Linked DNA regions of Homo sapiens: all the other regions are linked to region 1. The links are contacts of gene promoters, found by promoter capture Hi-C in human tissues and cell types (Jung and others, 2019). All regions are on one chromosome and are shown on one strand. Each heading gives the region's core, a stretch centred on a gene start or on the middle of the fragment in contact. The rest is flanking DNA. Distances are from core to core; before and after follow the strand shown.

Region 1 (3,551 bases), core at 743-3,242:
GTTTCTTCTTGTAACAACAGACATTCTTGGTTTGAGGAGAACGATAAAGCTTTATCAAAGCTGCATGCCTCCCTAGGGGCACCTAGGCATGTGACTGAGGCCACATGGCCACAGTGTCCTCAGGACCCTAAGACGGCACAGAGACAGTGGATGGAGTGTAGAAGGCCTGGGAACGTAAACATACATGCAGTGGATGGACAAGGTAAGGACACTGAGAGCACAAGTATGAGAGTGGCTTAAGGGGTGGTTGATGGTTGGGGTGAAGCAGAGGCATAGAAAAGACATGTAGTTTCTATAAGTGGGGCGTTGGGGTGGCCACAGGTAGATTTGGGGATAGAGCATGAGACTGCTAGAAGGATGGAGGCTGGGCCGGAGTGGCACTGGATCTCAGAAGAGGGATGGATCTGAAAAGGAGATCCAGGGAGAGGGTGTGAGAGCTGATGTGGAGGAAGCAGCCACAGGATTAGAATTCACGGCATTTCTTGCCTAATGAGGTTGCCTGGGATGACTGGGAACGGGTGGAGAAAGAGGCCTGAGCCCGCACCAAAGCACAATGGAACGGAGCTTAGGATGGGTGGCGGAAGTGTGGGGCGGGAGGAGCGTGGGGCGGGAGGAGTGTGGGGCGGGAGCGTGGGGCGGGAGTGTAGGGTCTGGCTTGGGTATCACTTTAGGTGTGAAGGACGGGGGTTGAGCGAGTCAGAGCCTAGAGTCTGGTTTGTGGTCTGAGTGTCTTGCCTGGTACGAAGAGTTTCTAACAGAGTCTGGGATCCCTCTGAGAACAAGGAATGTGAGGGGATAAGAGGGATGCTTGGTGCAGAGATGTGCTCTTTTGTACGGGATGAGAGCAGCACAGGAAGGGAATGCACCTGTGATGTGGGAGAGAAGTCTTGGAGTTGGGCTATGAAGAGTCTGGGCGGGTCCTGAAGTGCAGGTGGAGGAAGCCAGAGGTGCGTGTGGGAACTTGGGGTGTGAGGTGGTGTGTGGACTCCGGGGTCCCAGGTGTGGCAGGTGTGAGGGTAAGAGGGGCAGGCTGCACGGAATGAGAAGCCCAGGGTGTGCAGACTTCAGGATCAGGAGTGTATGGTGTGAGGACATGGAGATTAGGTTAAGGGGGTGAAGGACTGAGGTGAGGGATGTAAGGTGGGGAGAGTGGGGTATGGAGTGTGCAGTGAGGGGAGCGGGGGAGGGGTGAGGCGGGGTGAGGCGGGGTGAGGAGGGGTGAGGGGTGAGGCGGGGTGAGGGGTGAGGCGGGGTGAGGGGTGAGGCTGGGTGAGGAGGCGGGTGAACGGTGACGTGAGCGATGAGGGGTGAGGGGCGAGGCGGGTGAGGCGGGGTAAGGAGGGGTGAGGCGGGGTGAGGGGTGAAGGGTGAGGCGGGGTGAGGGGTGAAGGGTGAGGCGGGGTGAGGGGTGAGGGGTGAGGCGGGGTGAGGGGTGAAGGGTGAGGCGGGGTGAGGGGTGAAGGGTGAGGCGGGGTGAGGGGTGAGGCGGGGTGAGGGGTGAGGCGGGGTGAGGGGTGAGGGGTGAGGCGGGGTGAGGAGGGGTGAGGGGTGAGGGGCGAGGCGGGTGAGGCGGGGTGAGGAGGGGTGAGGGGTGAGGCGGGATGAGGGGTGAGGGGTGAGGCGGGATGAGGGGTGAGGGGTGAGGCGGGGTGAGGGGTGAGGCGGGGTGAGGGGTGAGGGGCGAGGCTGGGTGAGGAGGCGGGTGAGCGGTGACGTGAGCGATGAGGGGTGAAGGGTGAGGCGGGGTGAGGGGCGTCGGGGGAGGGGCATGGGGTGTGGAGTGAGTGGAGTCGGGTGAGTGGAGTTGGGTCGAAGTCAAGGGTCTGGCTTGAGGTTGGTGCCACCGCGAACGCTAGGACAGGGTCAGGCGGAGCCCAGCCGTCAGGGCGCGTTGGGAGGGCCGGGGCCCAGGGGGGCGCGGCCTCGCTCACCTCCAGCTTGGCCCGCGCTCCGGTCCTGCTCTGGCGCCCCCAGCGGCCGCTTGAGGAACAAGGCCGCTCCTCGAGAGGGATGCCCCGCCCTTTCCGTTAGCGAACCCTCCCCGGAAGTGACCTCTCGCCCTCATTGGGTGTCCTCGGGAAAAGGGGCGGGGCATTCCGCGCTGCTCCCACAGGTCTGCGGCGTCCGAGTCTGGGACTGGCAGGTGCGGTGCTGGGGACGTCCTGAGGTTGAGGGAGAATCCTGCGGAGATGAAGAGCTTCCCGGCCTGACAGTTTTGCCCCCACCTCCTTCTTGAGCTTAAGGATTTATACGCAGGGCCCCGTTTGCCTGCTGTGTCCCCAGTGTCCAGGACAGCGCCCGGTACCAAAGGTGCTGGTAAACATTTGTCGAATGAGTCGCTGAACGCCCAGCTATTTCCACTGTCACAGCGATCATGTGTGGCGGACATTATGTGGCATGTATCTTACAGAGGAGGCAGCCCGGGCTCAGGGAGACGAGGCAGAGGTGCACGCAGGTCTATGTGGGCTGGAAAGTGCTGGGGCCTCCCGGGCGCTCCTGGTCTCCAGGCAAGAACTGGAAGCAGAGCCACTCAACACCTAGAAGGGCAGTGACAGAAAGCTCTGGCTGGGAGGAGGCTGACCAGAGGCCAGTCTGAGCTCAGCCTTTTTTTTCAGAGGGACGTGGGCACCCTAGAAGGGTGGTAAGTAGGCGAGTGGCAGAGTTAAAAGGTCTCTGGCTGCCGAGGCGGGTGGCGACGGGGCCGGCCGTTGCTGTTGTTTGGCTGAGTGGTGGACAGGGTCAAAGCCATTCCAAGGTCGACTTGACAGGGCTTGGTAATGTGGGAGGGAGGGAGAAAGAAGCAAGGGGCTAATGGCCGGGGTGATACCACTGGCAGAGATGTGGAAGAGTGGGAGAAGCTAGCTTGGAAGGTTAACTTTGATTTTGAACACCTTGTGTTTGAGAATCCTGACAAACCTTAGACCCCCTGAATTTTCTCTCAGGGATTCTGATTCTTAGCAGCCTGATTGCAGAGGAGGAAAAATGGCTGGGGTTGAGCCAGACAGTTCTGGGCAAGGAGTGAGCATTCGCTTGTTTATTGAGGAGGCTGCTGCCTGGGCCACACTCCCTCCGCCAGCTGCCAGGTTCCTGCCCCGGTTGAACCCGGTTTTCTGGCCATCCCTTTCCACCTGTGAGCTGCTCTTCATACTTCCATTTGCTTATACAGCCCAGAGCCGATTTCTGTTACAGCAGCCCAGAGAAACATGAATAGGGAATAATTCTTTTTTTTTTTTTTTGAGACGGAGTCTTGCTCTGTTGCCCAGGCTGGAGTGCAGTGGCACGATCTCGGCTCACTGCAACCTCCGCCTCCCAGGTTCAAGTGATTCTCCTGCCTCAGCCTCCCTAGTAGCTGGGATTACAAGCACATGCCACAACGCCCAGCTAGTTTTTGTATTTTTAGTAGAGACCGGGTTTCGCTATGTTGGCCAGGCTGGTCTCGAACTCCTGTCCTCAGGTGATCCACCCGCCTCGGACTCCCAAAGTGCTGGGATTACAGGTGTGAGCCACTGTGCTTGGCCCGAATCAGGAATAATTCTGATGGCTAAGGAAGA
Region 2 (3,643 bases), core at 870-3,369, 100 kb after region 1:
AATGGATTTAGCAAAAATGTGTAAGAATGCTACACTGAAAGCTACTAAACATTGCTGAGATAAATTAAAGAGGACCAAAATATGTGGGAGGCTGAGGCAGGAGGATTGCTTGAAGCCAGGAGTTTGAGACCAGCCTTGGCAATAAAGCAAGACCCTGCCCCTACAAAATAAATAAACAAATAAATACATGAGGAAATATACTATGTTCATATAATAGAAAACTCAATATTATTAAGATGTCTATTCTCTCAATATATTTACAAATTCAGTGCAATACCAGTCAAATTCCCAGCAGGCTTTCTTGGGGAGTTAGAAATTGACAAGTTGATCCTAAAATTTATATAGAAATAAAAATGACCTAGAATAACCAACAAATTAAAAAAGAACAAAGTTACAGGACTTATCTGCTTTCAAGACTTACTATAAAGTTACAGAAATTAAACAGTATGGAATTGAAGAAAGTTATAAATATAGATCAAAGGAAAAGAATAGAGACAGAGTCCAGAAATAGACCCACACATATGTGGACAACTGATTTTCAACAAAAGTGCAAAGGCAATTCAGTGGAAAAGGAAGTCTTTTTAAAAATGGTGCTGAGAGGTCCCTAGAATAGTCAAATACATGGAGACAGAAAGCAGAACTGTGGTTCTAAGAGCTGGGTGGAAAGGAGACTGGAGGACTTATTGTTCAGTGAGTATAGTTTAATACGGGGTGATGAAAATGTCCTGGAGATGGTGGCGAATTCACTTAATGCCACAAAATTGTATACTTAAAAATTGTTAAAATGGTAAATTTTGTTATGTATATTTTACCACAATAAAAACTAAATTTAAAAATCTTAAAAATGGTTCTGAAACAACTGGACATGCTCCCCCCAAAAAAATATGAACAGCTACCTTTTCTTGATACCAAAAACAAAAATTAACTTGAAATTAATGACAGGCCTAAATGTAAATGCTAAAACTACACAGCCTGGGCAACATGGTGAGACCCCCATCTCTTTTTTTTTGAGACGAATTCTCGCTCTGTAGCCCAGGCTGGAGCGCAGTGGCGTGATCTCGGCTCACTGCAACCTCTGCCTCCTGGGTTCAAGTAATCCTCCTGCTGTAACGCAGGCGTGCGCCAACGTGCCCACCTAATTTTTGTATTTTTAGTGGAGACGGGATTTTGCCATGTTAGCCAGGCTGGTCTCCAACTCCTGACCGCAGGTGATCCATGCGCCTTGGCCTCCCAGGAATTACAGGTATGAGCCACCACGCCTGGCCCCCCATCTCTTAAAAAAAAGAAATAAAATAAAACTATAAAACACAGGAAAATATTTTTGTGATCTTGTGGTAGGCAAAGATTTTTTAGAGTGAACCCAAAGAATATGAGAACGATTAAACAAAAAAGATAAATTGAATTCTATAATAATGCAAGACTTTTGTTCTTTGAAAGAGGCTATTACAAAAATGAAACGGCAAGCCAAGAAATTAGAGAACTTTTGCAATACATATATCTTATAAAAACTTGTATCCAGGGCCAGGCGCGGTGGCTCACGCCTGTAATCCCAGCACTTTGGGAGGCCGAGGCGGGCGGATCACGAGGTCAGGAGATCACGACCATCCTGGCTAACACGGCGAAACCCCATCTCTACTAAAAATACAAAAAAATTATCTGGGTGTGGTGGTGGGCCACTGTAGTCCCAACTACTCGGGAGGCTGAGGCAGGAGAATGGCGGGAACTCGTGAGGTGGAGCTTGCAGTGACCTGAGGTCGCGCCACTGCACTCCAGCCCGGGCGACAGGGGGAGACTCCGTCTCAAAACAACAACAACAACAAAAAACTTGTATCCAGATTATATAAGGAGCTCCTAAATTTTAATAACTCAAACCACTCAGTTTTTAAAAATGGCAATAGACTAGAACAGACACTTCACGAAAGAAGCTATGTGAATGGCCAATAAGCCATTCCCCAGCAGCCCGGACGTCCTTCTTGTGGTATGGCCGACTCTCTGGCTTTTGTTGGCTTCTTCATCTCTGATCCCATCTGCGTCATTCCAGTCATAACCCATTTGATGGTTCTAACATGAGGATGGATTTATTATTTAAAAATATACATAGTTCTAGGGCCAGGTGTGGTGACTCATGCCTGTAATCCCAGCAATTTGGGAGGCCGAGGTGGGTGGATCACTTGAGGCCAGGAGTTCGAGACCAGCCTGGCCAATATGGTGAAACCCCATCTCTACTAAAACTACAAAAATTAGCCAGGCATGGTGGTGCATACCTATAGTCCCAGCTACTAGGGAGGCTGAAGTATGATAATTGCTTGAACCTGGGAGGCAGAGGTGGCAGTGAGCCGAGATTGTGCCATTGCACTCCAGCCTGGGCGACAGAATGAAACTCTGTATCAAAAAAAAAAAAAATATATATATATATATATAAAATTTTTAAATCTTTAATTTTATAAGACTAGTCAAGCGCAGCACTGATAAGGGGAAATCAGTAGAACAGGGAATTCATTCTTTTTGTCTCTCCTGTGCTGTACCCTTAAACACGGTTATGATGGTGAACTGCATGTTATGTGCTTTTCACTACAATAAAAATAGGTACATAGATCTTAAATTGTCAGTGGCCTTTGAGAGAGTGGAGAGGTAAACACAGGCAAAACACATCGTCTTGAATGAAAAGATACTCGGAACCCTAAATGTGAAATTAACTAGACAAATATTTCTCACTTTTAATTTCACGTTTTTTTTTCCTTTGAGACAGGGTCTCGCTCTGTCTCCCAGGCTGGAGTGCAGTGGTGTGATCTCGGCTCACTGCAGCCTTGACCACCCAGGCTCAGGCGATCCTCCTGCCTCAGCCTCCCAAGTAGCCGGGACCACAGGCACGCGCCACCACGTCTGGCAAATGTCCGTAATTTTGTAGAGACGGGGCCTCACTTTGTTGCTCAGGTTGTTCTTAAACTTCTGAGCTCAAGTGATCTGCTCACCTTGGCTTCCCAAAGTGCTGGGATTACAGGTGTGAACCACCTTGGCCGGCTAATTCCACATTTCAATGTTAAAACAGTATTTTAAATTTAACACTCTTTCTAAGAATATACAACAAAGATCAGCCATCCCTTTACGCTGCTGTTTTGCTGCTAGATATGGAGAACACACTCATCAGAATACACTCCAAAATCTGAACTAGCTTTGATGATGATAAAATTTAGAGTGTTTACCAGGTACTAGGCATGTGCTAAGCATTTTACACACACGTACCTCATCTAGTCCACACAATGGCCCAGGAGGCTGAGAACTGACCTGTGAGCCTCTGAAGGCAGACACCTTGCATCTCAACCAGGCCTGCCATCTGGCCAGAATGAATGAGGAAATGAAACAGTTTGTACTATAGTCCCCAGCTTAGCTGAGCACACACGGAGACATAGGAAGGCTAGGAAGCTTTCCTAGGCCACCTGGGTATTTGGTGGCTGAGCTGGGCATTTGCTCCAAGTCCAGCTCTTGAACTTCTCTGGGAAATGTATTGTTCCTTGAAACCAAACTGCAGAAGTGCTATCAGATTTCAGGGACTAAAATTAGAAACTCAAACCCCTTCAGAACCTTCCCTGTCTCCCAATCTCTATTTCTTCCAGTGTGACTTTCTTCTCGAGCCTGCTTAGCT
Region 3 (3,277 bases), core at 327-2,826, 110 kb before region 1:
CTTTAGGAGGCCAAGGTGAGAGGACTGCTTGAGCCCAGGAGTTTGAGACCTGCCTGGGTGACATAGGGAGACCCCATCTCTACAAAAAAAAAAAAAAAAAAAAAAAAAAAGTAGCCGGCACGTGGCCCACGCCAGTAGTCTTGGCAACTCAAGAGGCTGAATGAAGCAGGATGATTGTTTGAGCCTGGGAGGTTCGGGCTGCAGTGAGCCATGACTGTGCCACTGCACTCCAGCCTGGGCAACAGAGCAAGACCCTGTCTCAAGAAATTAAAAAAAAATTCATTTGATGGGCTTCAGTATATTAAAAACAAGAAAGAAAAGAGTAGTGAACTTGAAGACAAGCCAACAGAAATCATCCAAAATGAATTGCAAAGATAAAGACTGAGAAAAAACAAACAGAGCTTCAGCAACGTATGGGACAATAAAGTTCCAGAAGGAAAGGGAGAGATCATGCAGAAAAAGTAATTTATAGAAGCAATGGCTTGAAATGTATTAAATTTGACAAAAATGATCATCCCACAGACCCAGAAGTTTAAAGAGCCCCAAGCAGGACGAAAGCAAAAACCACAATGGTCAAATTGCTGAAGCCAAAATTAAATGCAAAATCTTAAGGCAGAGAATCAAAGGGTGCCATTATACACAGTTTATAAGGATAAGAATCAACACCAACTTCTAAGCAGAAACAATACAGGCCAGAAAACAAAGTAATATCTTTTTTTTTTTTTTTTTTGAGGCAGAGTCTCACTCATGTCGCCCAGGCTGCAGTGCAGTGGCGCGATCTCAGCTCAGTGCAGCCTCCACCTCCCGGGTTGAAGCGATTCTCCTGCCTCAGCCTCCTGAGTAGCTGGGATTACAGGCACCCGCCACCATGCTCAGCTCATTTTTATATTTTAGTAGAGACGGGGTTTCACCATATTTGCCAGGCTGGTCTCGAACTCCTGACCTCAGGTTATCCACCTGCCTCAGCCTCCCAAAGTGCTGGGATGACAGGCGTGAGCCGCTGCGCCCAGCCTAGTAATGAGATCTTTTAAAGTGACATCAGTTTAACTGCTGAATTAAAAAAAAAAAAAAAAAAAAGAAGCAGCTGTCAACCTAGAAATGCATATCCAGAGAAAATGCCCTTTGCAAAATAAAGGCACCAAGATGTTTTCAGATAAACAAAAGCTGAGGGGATTTGTGACTGGCAGCTCTGCATTACAAGAAATATTAAAAATTCTTCAGGCTGAAGAGAAATAATAACCAGACCAGATTATACTGAAAGAATGAAGAATGTTATAAATGGCAAAAATAGAAGACTTTTTCCTTCTTTCTTAATTTCCTTAAAACAAAGTTGACTATTTAAAACAAAAACAGGGCCGGGCACGGTGGCTCACGCCTGTAATCCCAGCACTTTGCAAGGCCAAGGCGGGCGGATCACCTGAGGTCAGGAGTTTGAGACTAGCCTGGCCAACACAGTGAAACCCCGTCTCTACTAAAAATACAAAAAAAATTTAGCCGGGCATGATGGTGGGTGCCTCTAATCCCAGCTACTTGGGAGGCTGAGACAGGAGAATCACCTGAACTCAGAGGCAGAGGTTGCAGTGAACCGAGATCGCACCACCGCTCTCCAGCCTGGGTGACTGAGGGAGACTCCATCTCTCAAAAAAAAAAAAAAAAAAAAAAAAAAAACCATACTGGGTGTTTATGTCATACGTAAAAATAAAATGTGTGACAGTAACAGGACAGGAAAGGCATGAATGGACACACACTGCCGTAAGGCTCTTCTGGTGTCAACAGGGTGATGTAATTTCAAGTCAGATGATTATAGCCCCCAGCAACCCCTGAAACACAACACAGAGATGTACAGCTCAACTCACAGTAGACAGAATACTAAAAACACTTGTTTTTTAAAAAAAGAAAAGAAAGAAAGGAAAAAAAATCAAAGGGACAAAGAGAAAACAAAGAGCAAGATGACAGACTTAAACCCAGCCACATCAATAGTAACAGTAAATTAAAATGGGCTAAAAATTCCAATTAAAAAAACCCATTAGACTGGATAACAAGAAGACCCAACTACATCTACATTCTGTGTACAAGAAACTCACCTTAAACATAAACACACAGACCAGTAAAAAATACAAGAAAACAACAGAGCAAGCTGACACTGGTCATGACAAAGCTGAGTGACTCTGTTAGCACCAATGAGACCGCGTCAACTTTAAGACAATGAGCATCGCTAGAGAGAAAAAGGGACTGCTGTCTGTGCTTTGTGGGTCACCTCCATCACAAACCATGACTCCCGTACTCCCCCAAACCCTGTGCCCCATGCTAAGTCACTGAAATAAATGACTCATTTAAGCCTCACAACTTCCCTGTAAGGCAGGAATCAGCATTTCCACTTTCTGCACAAGGAACCAGAAGCTCTAAGATGCTTAGATAACTAGGCCAGGCACGGTGGCTCACGCCTGTAATCCCAGCACTTTGGGAGGCCGAGGCAGGTGGATCACGAGGTCAGGAGATCGAGACCATCCTGGCTAACACGGTAAAACCCCGTCTCCACTAAAAATACAAAAAATTAGCTGGGCGTGGTGGTGGGCACCTGTAGTCCCAGCTACTCGAGAGGCTGAGGCAGGAGAATGGTGTGAACCCGGGAGACGGAGCTTGCAGTGAGCGGAGATCGCGCCACTACACTCCAGCCTGGGCGACAGAGCGAGACTCCATCTCAAAATAAAAAAAAAAAGATAACCTCTAAGGCCACACAGCCAACAGTGGGGAGCTGAGTGCAGGTCCCCCCGTGGCCTAGGTCCAAGGTCCACACTCCTCTGCCTGCTCAGTCCCACAGAGACTCCGGGATGGCCCCAAAAGGTAGCACCACGCGCAGGACACTGCCTCAGGCCTTACACACCAACCCAGCCACCACCCAATCGCAGTCTCCTTTCTCCCTCCCAGGCATCTCTGCCTTGTTCAGTCCAGGCCCACCAGGGATGGCACAGTGAGGGGTAAGAGAGGCCTCAATGTCAACCCCAAGCTCTCAGGGCAAGAACCCAGAGCTGCTCACGTTAGGTGGGGCAGGCGGTCTGGCAGAGGGAGTAAAACACTGTCGTCTCTAAGGGCTGACTCCTCAACAGGTGCCTGAGCTGCTCAAAGCCAGGTCAGGGAAAACACACGTGCTCAGAGTGGAGGCTGTGTACTGAGACCTGAGGGTCTCTGATGACGGCCCTCCTGTCACTGTCTGGAAGCACCCACTGAGTGGTGCGGGGCCCTGGGGAGCCACAGCCACCCCAGGCCAGTAGGCAGT

What was found. Contacts are between HindIII fragments. The study calls those that stand out against the background at their distance.
Region 2: a fragment that was not itself captured here is called in contact with the fragment with the promoter of SYCE3 in region 1 in 2 of the 25 tissues and cell types used here (liver and lymphoblastoid cells).
Region 3: a contact is called between a fragment that was not itself captured here and the fragment with the promoter of SYCE3 in region 1, in 4 of the 25 tissues and cell types used here (IMR-90 fibroblasts, dorsolateral prefrontal cortex, heart right ventricle and 1 more).

The regions. Positions count from the first base shown.
Region 1 is chr22:50,560,927-50,564,477 of GRCh38, forward strand. SYCE3 (synaptonemal complex central element protein 3) reads right to left here and starts at 1,993. Exons shown (of 3, transcript NM_001123225.3): 1 at 1,932-1,993. It overlaps LOC107985568 (a long non-coding RNA gene), which reads left to right and starts at 2,035. Exons shown (of 2, transcript XR_001755606.3): 1 at 2,035-2,641. RefSeq lists silencers at 416-614, 1,685-2,094. The HindIII fragment of the contact is 12,147 bases long and covers 1-3,551 here.
Region 2 is chr22:50,662,596-50,666,238 of GRCh38, forward strand. No RefSeq gene overlaps it. Among named protein-coding and RNA genes, the nearest start is that of SHANK3, 8.4 kb to the right of the region's middle. The HindIII fragment of the contact is 5,475 bases long and covers 1-3,643 here.
Region 3 is chr22:50,451,084-50,454,360 of GRCh38, forward strand. All of the region lies in intron 36 of SBF1 (SET binding factor 1), which reads right to left. Among named protein-coding and RNA genes, the nearest start is that of SBF1, 22 kb to the right of the region's middle. The HindIII fragment of the contact is 3,854 bases long and covers 1-3,277 here.